2 separate regions of the Homo sapiens genome follow, and region 2 is linked to region 1. Evidence: promoter capture Hi-C in 16 types of primary human blood cells and fetal thymus (Javierre and others, 2016). All regions are on one chromosome and are shown on one strand. Each heading gives the region's core, a stretch centred on a gene start or on the middle of the fragment in contact. The rest is flanking DNA. Distances are from core to core; before and after follow the strand shown. Region 1 holds the start of PHF14 (PHD finger protein 14). Region 2 overlaps RPA3 (replication protein A3).

What was found. Contacts are between HindIII fragments. The CHiCAGO score rates a contact against its expected background, and 5 or more counts as called.
Region 2: a fragment that was not itself captured here is called in contact with the fragment with the promoter of PHF14 in region 1 in 1 of 17 cell types (non-activated CD4 T cells); the score reaches 6.6 in non-activated CD4 T cells.

Annotation. Positions count from the first base shown.
Region 1 is chr7:10,971,711-10,976,890 of GRCh38, reverse strand. PHF14 (PHD finger protein 14) reads right to left here and starts at 3,019. Exons shown (of 18, transcript NM_001007157.2): 1 at 2,567-3,019; 2 at 1,946-2,056. The coding sequence starts at 2,567. RefSeq lists silencers at 2,175-2,224, 3,205-3,264, 3,775-3,824 and an enhancer at 2,955-3,249. The HindIII fragment of the contact is 4,357 bases long and covers 1-3,601 here.
Region 2 is chr7:7,648,263-7,653,442 of GRCh38, reverse strand. All of the region lies in intron 4 of RPA3 (replication protein A3), which reads left to right. The region is part of intron 1 of UMAD1 (UBAP1-MVB12-associated (UMA) domain containing 1); the gene reads right to left. Among named protein-coding and RNA genes, the nearest start is that of UMAD1, 10 kb to the right of the region's middle. The HindIII fragment of the contact is 9,583 bases long and covers 1-5,180 here.

The DNA of each region.
Region 1 (5,180 bases), core at 1,770-4,269:
AATTTAAGCTCCCCAGGGGGCCAGGAAGGTAAATTATGAGTGCAGCATACTAGATATTATATTACAAGAGGGAACAGAAAGTAAATATTTTTAGTGTGTTTAAGGGATATATAGATATATCAACCTAACAAAACTCATCCTATCATTTTTCACAAATAACAGTTCTCTTCAACTATAATTAGGATTTAACAAGGTCAGAAATCTCTACTTAGCTCGATATCATAAAATATTTTGAGAAAGTACTTTATGTTTGTATCAGATTGTTTTACCACTTGAAAAAGAAGTGATACCTGTGAATATTCCATCTCAATGAACAAACCTTGGAAACAAATTGTCCATAAAGTCAAGATTTATTGTCACATAATAATGTAATACTTAATGTAAGTTTTAGAATTGTTCCCATATTCAAAGAATTCGTAACTTCCACGACCCAACTATGTTTGTCAAAGTTTACAACCACAACCATAACAAACCAAAACTACATCCTAGCCAGGAATATTCTTATCTGCCAAGGTCTTTACCAAGAGAACTAAGATTTAAATTTTACCTCCTTTCCCTTCCCCTTCCCTTCTTTGGAAATACCAAATATCAGCAAACCAACTAAATGGGAGATAAAGAGCTGAGAAGCAAAGGATAAAAAAACAGTTAATCAAGATAAACTTATCAATTTTTGATTGCTGCGGATGAATTCAATTAGTAACCAAATAGTCAGTTTCTGTTTAAGATTCCGTCCATCAACTCTTGGGATCCAAGCAGATAAACAGACTAAATTCTGAAGTCAAATCCATTGGATCCGTTACTGCCTGAGTGACCTCATGCCAGTTCTTTAAACTCAATACCCCTGTTACCTGTAAAATGGTATCTCCTTCACTAAGTTACTGTGAAAATTAAGTGAGATTATGCAAACAAAAAGTTATCAGTAAATCACAATGCAAATTCTGCTGTTGATGCTACTAAAAGTAGCAACAGTAATATAATTTCGTTCATCCCTTCCTACTATCCCTAGCAGGAAAAAGACAAGGGAAAACCAGAAGAAGGAGAGATGTGACTAACCACGGCAAACTCTCTGGAAGTATATTTAAAAACTGTTGAAGAGATGAAACTGGAAAGGCTTTTACTTCTCATTTTATTTAAATTTTCATCTCACTTTATTAAAATTTTCAAAAGAGGTGGAATTACACATAATTTTCATTGTTCATGTTTATCAGTATTTTTCCCATAAAACATTTAAATTAAACATAATTTTTGTTTCTCAGATTCCTTCAATTGAAACTGTATATATACATAAGGTACACTGAACAGAAAATACAAAGGAAAATCATACTTTTCTGTTTTCCAGTTTAGTACAATGTGAATATACGACCTTTAAAAAAAGTTTTTAAAATTACTAAATATAGTGAGCAAGCATGCATGACTTATACTTCAGAGACATCTGAAAGGCCCAATCCACAAGGTCCAGCACCTACTATAATTTGAAGTGCAACTCTTACTCTGGTCAATTTTATTCTAGTAAAAGAGCTAATACACAAAAAAAGCAAAACTCCCCTAAGAGATTGTCAAGTGATCTGAAAAAAGAAGAACCCTGCTCAGGGACTATTAATGGTCCACACACCTCTCAGGATACTTTTCTACTTCGGGATATCTTTCAGTTTTTTCCTCTATAATATAAGCATAAATATATTTTAAGGTGTAAAACAGAGAAATCCTTTTGCATCTTTGGAAAAAGTCCTTCCCCTGACTGCTAATTATCTCTGAGGAAAACAGAAGCAATTATAGGTCTAGTGACAGGATCTAAAGGCAAAATGGGAAATCAAATGGACAAAATAAATGAAGTTTACGTGCTTTCACTTAAAATTGGCATTTTAATCAAAACCGATTTAAAAAGTCTAAAAATAAGCCTAACTCCAGAAAGCTGGGAAAGGGGAAGAGAGAAGGAAATATTTACCTGAGGCATCTCCAACTTTAAAATCACTGTCATCTGAACTATCATAATCAAGAGCTTCCAGCAGAGAAGCTGCCAAAGGCTTCACCTGCCTCCTCTTGGAGCTGCGATCCACTGTGAAGAGAAAAAAATTACATTGTCATTCATAATCACACCAAACACAGGGGAGAGTTGTGGTGCTAAGAGAACATAAAGATGACCTCGCACAAGGAATTTTTGTCTAACTGAGTTCTCAGCAAAAGGGGTCAGGAGAAGGTTGGGGTGCAGAAGCAGGGTGGGGAGGGCTGGACAGCTCCACGGGCAGTTTCAAAGGCAGCTCCAGCCCTGATGCTGCCAACGCCAACTCAGACCAGCTAAAATCGAAGCTGACCCTCTTGCTCATCTTTTCGAGATGTTTCTGCACCTTCCTCGTAATCCCCCACTTAGACATCGTAACAGTCAATAAAAACGGCAAAAATCAGGGAATAAAACAAGCGGGCTTCATTCCCGCGGACCATGGAGGGCGAGGGTCCACCAATCCTGCTTTCCCGCAGGACTCTCCCACCCCTGCCCTGCTCCCACCGGCCCTGACTTCTAGAATGGCTGAAATGGACCTCTCGCCGCAGAGGCCTCGGATACACTTACTAAGGAATCCGTGAGGTGGTCGTTTGGAGAAGACTTAGGGAGAGGCTGCAGGAGCCCAGGCAGCGCCGAGGTCGGGGACTGGGGCCGCGAAGACAAGTCCGAAAGATGCTATTTAAAACCGGCGCGCAGCCAGCCGGACAGGGGCGCTCCCAAGAGTAGCCCCGCGGTCCCCTAACCCCCCGCCCCCCCGGCCTCGCCTGGCCCTGGCCGCTCGAGCCCCTTCCCACAGCGCTCCCTGGCCGGAGAAGACCTCCGGCCCAGGCAGCGCAGTCAACCCGGCGGCCCCGGGGAGTTAATTTCTCCCGTTAAAACTAGAAGAAAAAAAATTAAAGAAAGAAAAACTTTATTAGCCTGGACCAGAAGCAACGAAAGACCAGAAATTGCACAGCGCGAGGGCGGCTGCCTCAGACAATAGGGAAAGCAGCGACCCGGATACAGCTCTGAAAAGGAAGTGAAAACACGAGGCTGAGCGCAGCCCTGAGAGCAGCAGGAATTGAGGGCGCATGCGCAGGACTCGCCCCCGCGCACCCTTCCCGAGCAGGAGCCGAACAGAGCCGAGTGAAAGCCCAGGGAGCCGCGCGGAGGCGAGCGGAGCCGAGTAGTGCCAAGGCGGAGCAGAGATCCCCGCCAAACCCTGTGCAATTCCGCCCATAAACCCCAAAGGCTCCGCCCTCTCCGCGCCTAATTCACCTCCTGAGTCCAAATCCCTGGGAGGCCAGTTTTTGTTTCTGATCTGTTTTTTAAGGATTTACTGAGTAAACGTTCCACAAAGGGATGTTTGCTACCTTAAGCCACTACCAATATTTAAATGATATTGTCACCGGTAGAGGATCGTGACTGCAAGTTGTCCAGGTTCTTGGCGTTTTTAACAAAGAATTGGACAAAACGCCCAGCAAAGCAAAGAAAGAATGAAGCAACAAAACAACAAAAGCAGGGACTTATTGAAAATTAAAGCACGCTCTGTACGGAAGCGACCTGAGCAGCGGCTCAAGGGCCCGGATACAGAATCTTGAGTCCAAATACCCTCTAGAAGCTTCCTATTGGCCACCTAATGCTCACCTCATGTAAATGAAGTAACGCGCAATCAGTCTGATTGGTTGCAGAAAGCAGCCAACCAGAGGCTGAAGTGAAGTTACAAAGGTCATGCTCCTGTGCAAACATTGGTGCAAAAAGCAATCAATCAGAGGCTAGGGTGAAGTTACAAAGTGGTATACCTCTATGCAAAGGAAGATTTCCCCTGCAATCAGTTTGATTTCTTGCAGATGGTGAAGTTACAAAGTGATACTTCTATGCAAAGGAAGACTCTCCTGCAATCAGTCTGATTTGCTGCCCACAGCCAATTTCCCATCTGCCCTGCAGAAAAAGTGGGGGTTTGCAAAGGGAGTAGCCTCTGGTCCTTTTGTTACTTAGGCATGGAAAGTTAGGGGTTTCCTTTCAATTTAGTTCTTAGGAAGTCGGAGTGACACATCCTTAGGTTCCCTGCCTCCACACCCTATTCTCCTGCCTCACTCTCACCCAAACTATCATTGCCATGTGACCTCTCAAACTTTTCTATTGTGCTATAGAAACTTCTATTCCAAAATGTATAACCTACTTAGTAAACATTTTTCCTTTTCAATGCCCATTCTTTTTACCTCCTCATCTGAAATAGAAACAGTTACCCTGCAGCCCTCTCAAATGAAAACCACTCATCCTTCCATACTTCATTTTCTCAAGGTGCAGAAGTGGCATCCCATGCTTAATACTCCTCATTGCCTTTCAGATATTTATTCTTCCAGTTAAAATCCTAGGAACTTGGTTATTTTAAAAACTCCACTCTGGGAATTTCACTTCCATTCTACTTTAAACACCAACCATATCATGGACTGATAGTCTTATCTATGAAATTATAAATCCAAATATTCCACTGTTTGACAATAGCCTTTTAGATTTATTTGGAGCAATTATGCTGAATCATCTAAAAGAGAAATTCAAAATCTGGCATTCGTGTTTATGTAAAACTAATTTCTAGAAGGAGATTTTCAGAATCAAAATGTATTAATTCATTTACTTTAATAAATAACACCTAGTTGCTCTAGAAAAACTGTACTGCCGGGTGCGGTGGCTCACGCCTGTAATCCCAACACTTTGGGAGGCTGAGGCGGGTGGATCACTTGAGGTTGGGAGTTCGAGACCAGCCTGCCCAACATGATGAAACCCCGTGTCTACTAAAAATACAAAAATTAGCTGGGCGTGGTGGCACATACCTGTAATTCCAGCTACTTGGGAGGCTGAGGCAGGAGAATCACTTGAACCTGGGAGGCAGAGGTTGCAGTGAGCAGAGATCACGCCACTGCATTCCAGCCTGGGTGACAAGAGTGAAACTCCGTCTCAAAAAAAAAAAAAAAAAAGTCTGTACTAATATATATACCACCAAGAGTGGATAAGAATTCTTTCTAGTTTTCCAAACCTGTGGCCATTGGATATCAGCAATCATTTTTTTTTAACTTTTAATTTTGAAGTAATTTCAGATTTACCAAAAAGTGCAATAATAATACTGAGTTTTTGTACATCCTTCACCTAGCTACCACTAATATCAGTATCTTATATAACCATAATACATTTATCAAAACTA
Region 2 (5,180 bases), core at 1,654-4,153, 3.3 Mb after region 1:
AGAAGATAAGGTTTAGAAGATAAGATTACTGCCTTTTTGAGAGCTTATAAACAAACTGCACTAAGAATTTATCATTTGGATCTCAATCACTGACAAAGAAGGCAATTTACAGCCTTTAGTGTCATCTTGAGTCATCTAAATTAATGATACAGTGACACATTTATATGTTTTAGGAAAGTTACAAATATAACTGCATAACTGCCACAAACCATTTTGATTTGAGTGTAAATAACACTACTGTACAAGAAGAATTTCTGAAGCAACTTCATTTGGTGTTGCATTTTGAAAATGAAAAAACACCCTGCAAAAGAATTCAGACAACTCTAACAAAAAGCATCTCTCCACATAAAACAAATATCATAAAACACATCTAAATAATGTCCTAAGGGAGAATTAAGTCATGGGATGTGAGGTCACACCTCTTTACAACTCTCTAGAGCACTGGGGAGCAAGAATAAATGTAAAAATAAATAAAACATTATTCAGTATGGGTCTTTAAAATATTCTATTTGCTCGCTCATTTTAATGTTTACACAAAATAGAAGCCATCACATTCAACATCCAGAAAGAATCACTCCCTAAACTGCCAACTAAAAATTATTTGACTTTCAATATAGCCTGACTGCATCATCAGAAGGCTTACTACTTCCTCCCCATTGAAGAACAAACTTCTTTTAACACTCAGTCATTTGTTTGTTCACTATTTAATTCATTCAACCAACATCTTTTGAGGGCCCAAAATTGGCCAGGCACTGTGGTAGGCCCTAGACAAACAAAATTAGACAAGTCACTTTCTCCAAATTCACGGAATTAACCAATCTACTTCCTGCCTCTTTATCCTACTTCTCTACCACCTCTCACAATGTCAATGGGCACAAAGCAAGGTGCTAAGTCCTGTATAAAACCAGCATCAACCATGCATTAACCATGCAAAATGTTACTCACATTCTAGTCTAGTCAAAAATATTGCTAGCTGTCTAATGACTTGCTTCAGACTGCTGAGTAAACAAGACAGCCAGCTGTTTTACAACAAAATGTATGTAAAGAAACACACTAAAAAAATTGGTAATAACTATATCAACTGAAAATCAGAGACCATATCTCAAAGTCTGAGTCAAACTTCCACGAACTGCATGATCAATGGGTATTGACCAAGAAGTACAATCGACCAAGAGTATACTGCTTTACTCGGAAATCCTATCAAAGGAATGAATAAATGGCCAAGTGAGCAAACGAGCAATGTAAAACAGGAGCATGAACCACAAAGAAGATGTGGAAAATACTTTGTCCATCCCCACTGCCTGAGCTTAATTATAAAATACAAGAGCTATATCTACCAGAAAAAAAGACTGCCAGACATCCCACTGCATGGAGACCCCAAAGTCTTACAGGACTAGATTTCCTCCCTTCCTTCTACCCCTCCCTGACAAGATCTTCTCCCACTTCCATTCAGAAGTCACAGCTCTTGCAAGGGGAGAGAGGGAGGAGTCAGGAGGGCAGTGGTTTGAATGGTGTGTAACTGCCCAAGGAGGACTCTGTAAAACAGAGTACAAGACAGGAAAAACTCTGAGCAGAAGAAAGAAAGAAGGTTGAATTTCAAGTTCAAAGAACTGTAAACTGCTCCTAATTCTTCAACTCACTCACAGACCTTTTAAAATCTGAGTCTCGGAAGACCCAATTTCCACCCAGCAGAGTCACATATGATGAATGCCTGTTAGCCTTTGGGAATTGAGTGAACCAGGAAATGTGTACATCCCTCTGACTTTCAGGACCAGACTCAGAAACAAGAAGCTGCCAGCAATAAAAAGTTAAGTGAGGGAGACTAAAGTAATCTGACACAGTCTCTCCTTCAATTAGAGATCACCAGAATGAGATCAACATGAGGATGGAAAAATACGTACCCAAAGCAATGGCCATAGGGAAAATAATATGGACAGGAGGCAGGAAAATACGAGACAGAAGAGGACAGTTCCCTGGCAAAGGCCCCAGCCTCAAGCCTGAAAACCTACAGCCCTAAATGGGAACAGGCATTCCTGTTTCCATACCCAAATGTTGCCTTTTGGCCTGCCACACCCTCCATCCTGTACCCTTATAAACCCCAAACCCCAGCCAAAAGACAAGCCAAGCCCACCCTTGTCACAAGTCCTGCAAGGAGGTTCAGGGAACTCTCCAACATTAGCTCTAGTACTAACATATACTTTTGTGGATTTGTAGATCCTTGTCCTTTCTGGTTTCTATGTAATTTTTGAAATCTTTTATTGATTTAGCCATATATTTTTAAAAATATTTAATCCAACTTTTTTAGATGGACTGTACAGGGAGTGATTTCTCTGAATGTCTGATTTGCTATATTACCAGAAAAATGTGCTCTGGTATTGCTTTGGGCTTTCTCTTTGGCTACAGAGGGGTTGCTCAAAGGTCATGCACCTGGCTTTTTGTACCACAAATGCTCTTTTAAGAGAGCAAATATGGGGATTCTGCTGGTTCCTGAGTACAACAAATCTGACTATACATTAACCAAGATCTCAGTGAAGGTTATAATAAAGTGTTGGGGAGGGACAGCATTAAAGGTAAAGGTAAGCCATGGCCAGAACCTGGAATGTCTTTCTTATATGCCATGCCAAGGAGTTTGGACTTAACAGTGATGCCGGAGGAAATCACTGGATGGAGAGTGATCAGTCTGATATTTTAGGTGGACCATTCTGGGTTCAGGATGCAGAATGGCTGGATTAGTAAATCAAGGTGCGTTTGGCACAAGTAACATTGCCACTTTAACCAGCTTAAACTTTGTTTTACTTATTAACTGTGGTAATAAACATACTACATAAAATTTATCATTTAAACAATTTTTAAGTGTACGGTTTAGTGGCATTAGGTACATTCACACTGTCCTGCAGCCATCACTACCATCCTGTTACAACTGAGGATCAAGCAAATAATGAGACATGTAAGCCTACAGCAAAATCACAATTTAAAACAAAGCAGACATTACAAGAGTAAAATATTATCATTACATTAGTTTTGGAAGAAATTAACCATCCACTTAGAATTCTATACCACAGAAAGATAATAAAACTATGCTTTGAGAACTCGAATGAAATAAACACTCAGAAAAACAAACATGAACTGATGAAGCTGTAAAAATATTAAGTAAAGAAAATGATAAATATATGGGTAATTTCAAGCAAATATTAACTGCATAAAGCAATAATAATGTCTAGGCAGAGTTACAAGAACGTAAATTGTGGGATTACAAGAAATCAAAACAGAACTAAATCTCTAGACAACAGCATAAAAATTGGGAAAAGGTAAATGGAATTACAGGTTCTGTCTTGACCCAAAGTAACTTTCGACTTCAAGATTAATATGCATGCTTCTTAATCTGTCCATGCTGCTATAACAAAATACCATGAATTAGGTAACTTATAAACAGAAATTTACTTCTCACAGTCCTAGAGGCTGGAAAGTGTAAGATCAAAGCTCCAGTATATTCAGTGTCTGATGAATGCCCACTTTCTGGTTCACAGACAGCCATCTTTTCACTATAATTTCATATGGTTGAAGGAGCAAGGGATCTCTCTGACTCTTTTATAAGGGCATGAATCCAATTCATGTGCCCTCTCAAAGGCCTTACCTCCTAATACTATATGCCATCACCTTAGGGGTTAGGATTTCAGCATATGAATTGGGTGGGGGGAGAGAGACAAACATTCGGACCATGGCAGCAGGTTAAAATTTGTAGGGTGGGCCCCCCCACCAACAAGAATACAGAATGTATAACATTCAAATTAACACAGACTGATAACATTAAAGAAGAAAAAAGTAACAAAAAAATCAATGCAAAAGAAGGCAAGAAAGGAAAAAATAACAACAAAACAGAACACATAGGAAGCAAAAAACTGACGTGGAAATTAATCCTGCTGTGGTTTGAATATGTTCCCCAAAGTTCATGTGTTAGAAACTTAATTGCCAATGCAACAGTGTTGAGAGCTGGGACCTATAAAAGGTAACCAGGTTATGAGAGCTCTGACCTCATAAATGGATTAATGCCATTATTGCTAGAGTGGGTTAAGTTATTGGGGGAGTAGTTTCCTGAAAAAAAGCATTAGTTAGTCCCCTTCCCTTACATTTCTCTCATGGTCTCTTGCCTTTCTGTCTTCCTCATAACAAGCCCCTGCCAGATGTGGGTCCCTGGACCTTGGACATCCAAGCCTCTAGAACTATAAGACATCATTTCCTTTCCTTTTTTATTCTTTTCTTTTCTTTTTTTTTTTTTTTTTTTTTGAGATGGAGTCTCGCTCTTGTCGCACGGGCTGGAGTGCAGTGGCACAATCTTGGCTTACTGCAATCTCCACTTCCTGGGTTCAAGCGATTCTCCTGCCTCAGCCTCCTGAGTAGCTGGGATTACAGGCATCCGCCACCATGCCTGGCTAATTTTTGTACTTTTAGTAGAGACAGGGTTTTGCCATGTTGGCCAGGCTGGTCTCAACTCCTGACCTCAGGTGATCCACCCACCTCGGCCTCCCAAAGTGCTGGGATTACAAGTGTGAGCGACCGCGCCCGGCCTTTTTTTTTCTTTCTTTCTTTTTTGAGACAGGGTCTCACTCTGTCGCCCAGGCTGGAACACAGTGACACGATCTTAGCTCACTGCAACCTCCACCTCCTGAACTCAAGCCATCCTCCCACCTCAGCCTCCCAAGTAGCTAGGACCACAGGCACACACACCACCATGGCCAGCTAATTTTTGTATTTTTTGTAGAGATGGGCTTTCACCATGTTGCCCAGGCTTGTCTCGAACTCCTGAATTCAAGGGATCTACCTGCCTCGGCCTCCCAAAGTGCTGGGATTACAGGAGTGAGCCAATTCCCCTGCCAATTTTATTTTCTTTATAAATTACCCAGTCTGTGGTATTCTGTAATAGCAACACTACATAGACTAAGACAAATCATAATACATCAGTAGCCACAATCAATATAAATGGACAAAAGAGAGAAAAAATGAATCGCCAGCTATATGCACTATTTACAAGACAGACACACCTGGAACATAAGAATACAAAAAAAGTTAAAGCTGTCAGGCCAACACAAACACAAATAACAGAAGGGCCACACAGTATAAAGTCTATGGTTTACTGGAGAAAACTTAAGCGGAGAAAACTTAAGCAGAGAAACAGCAAATCA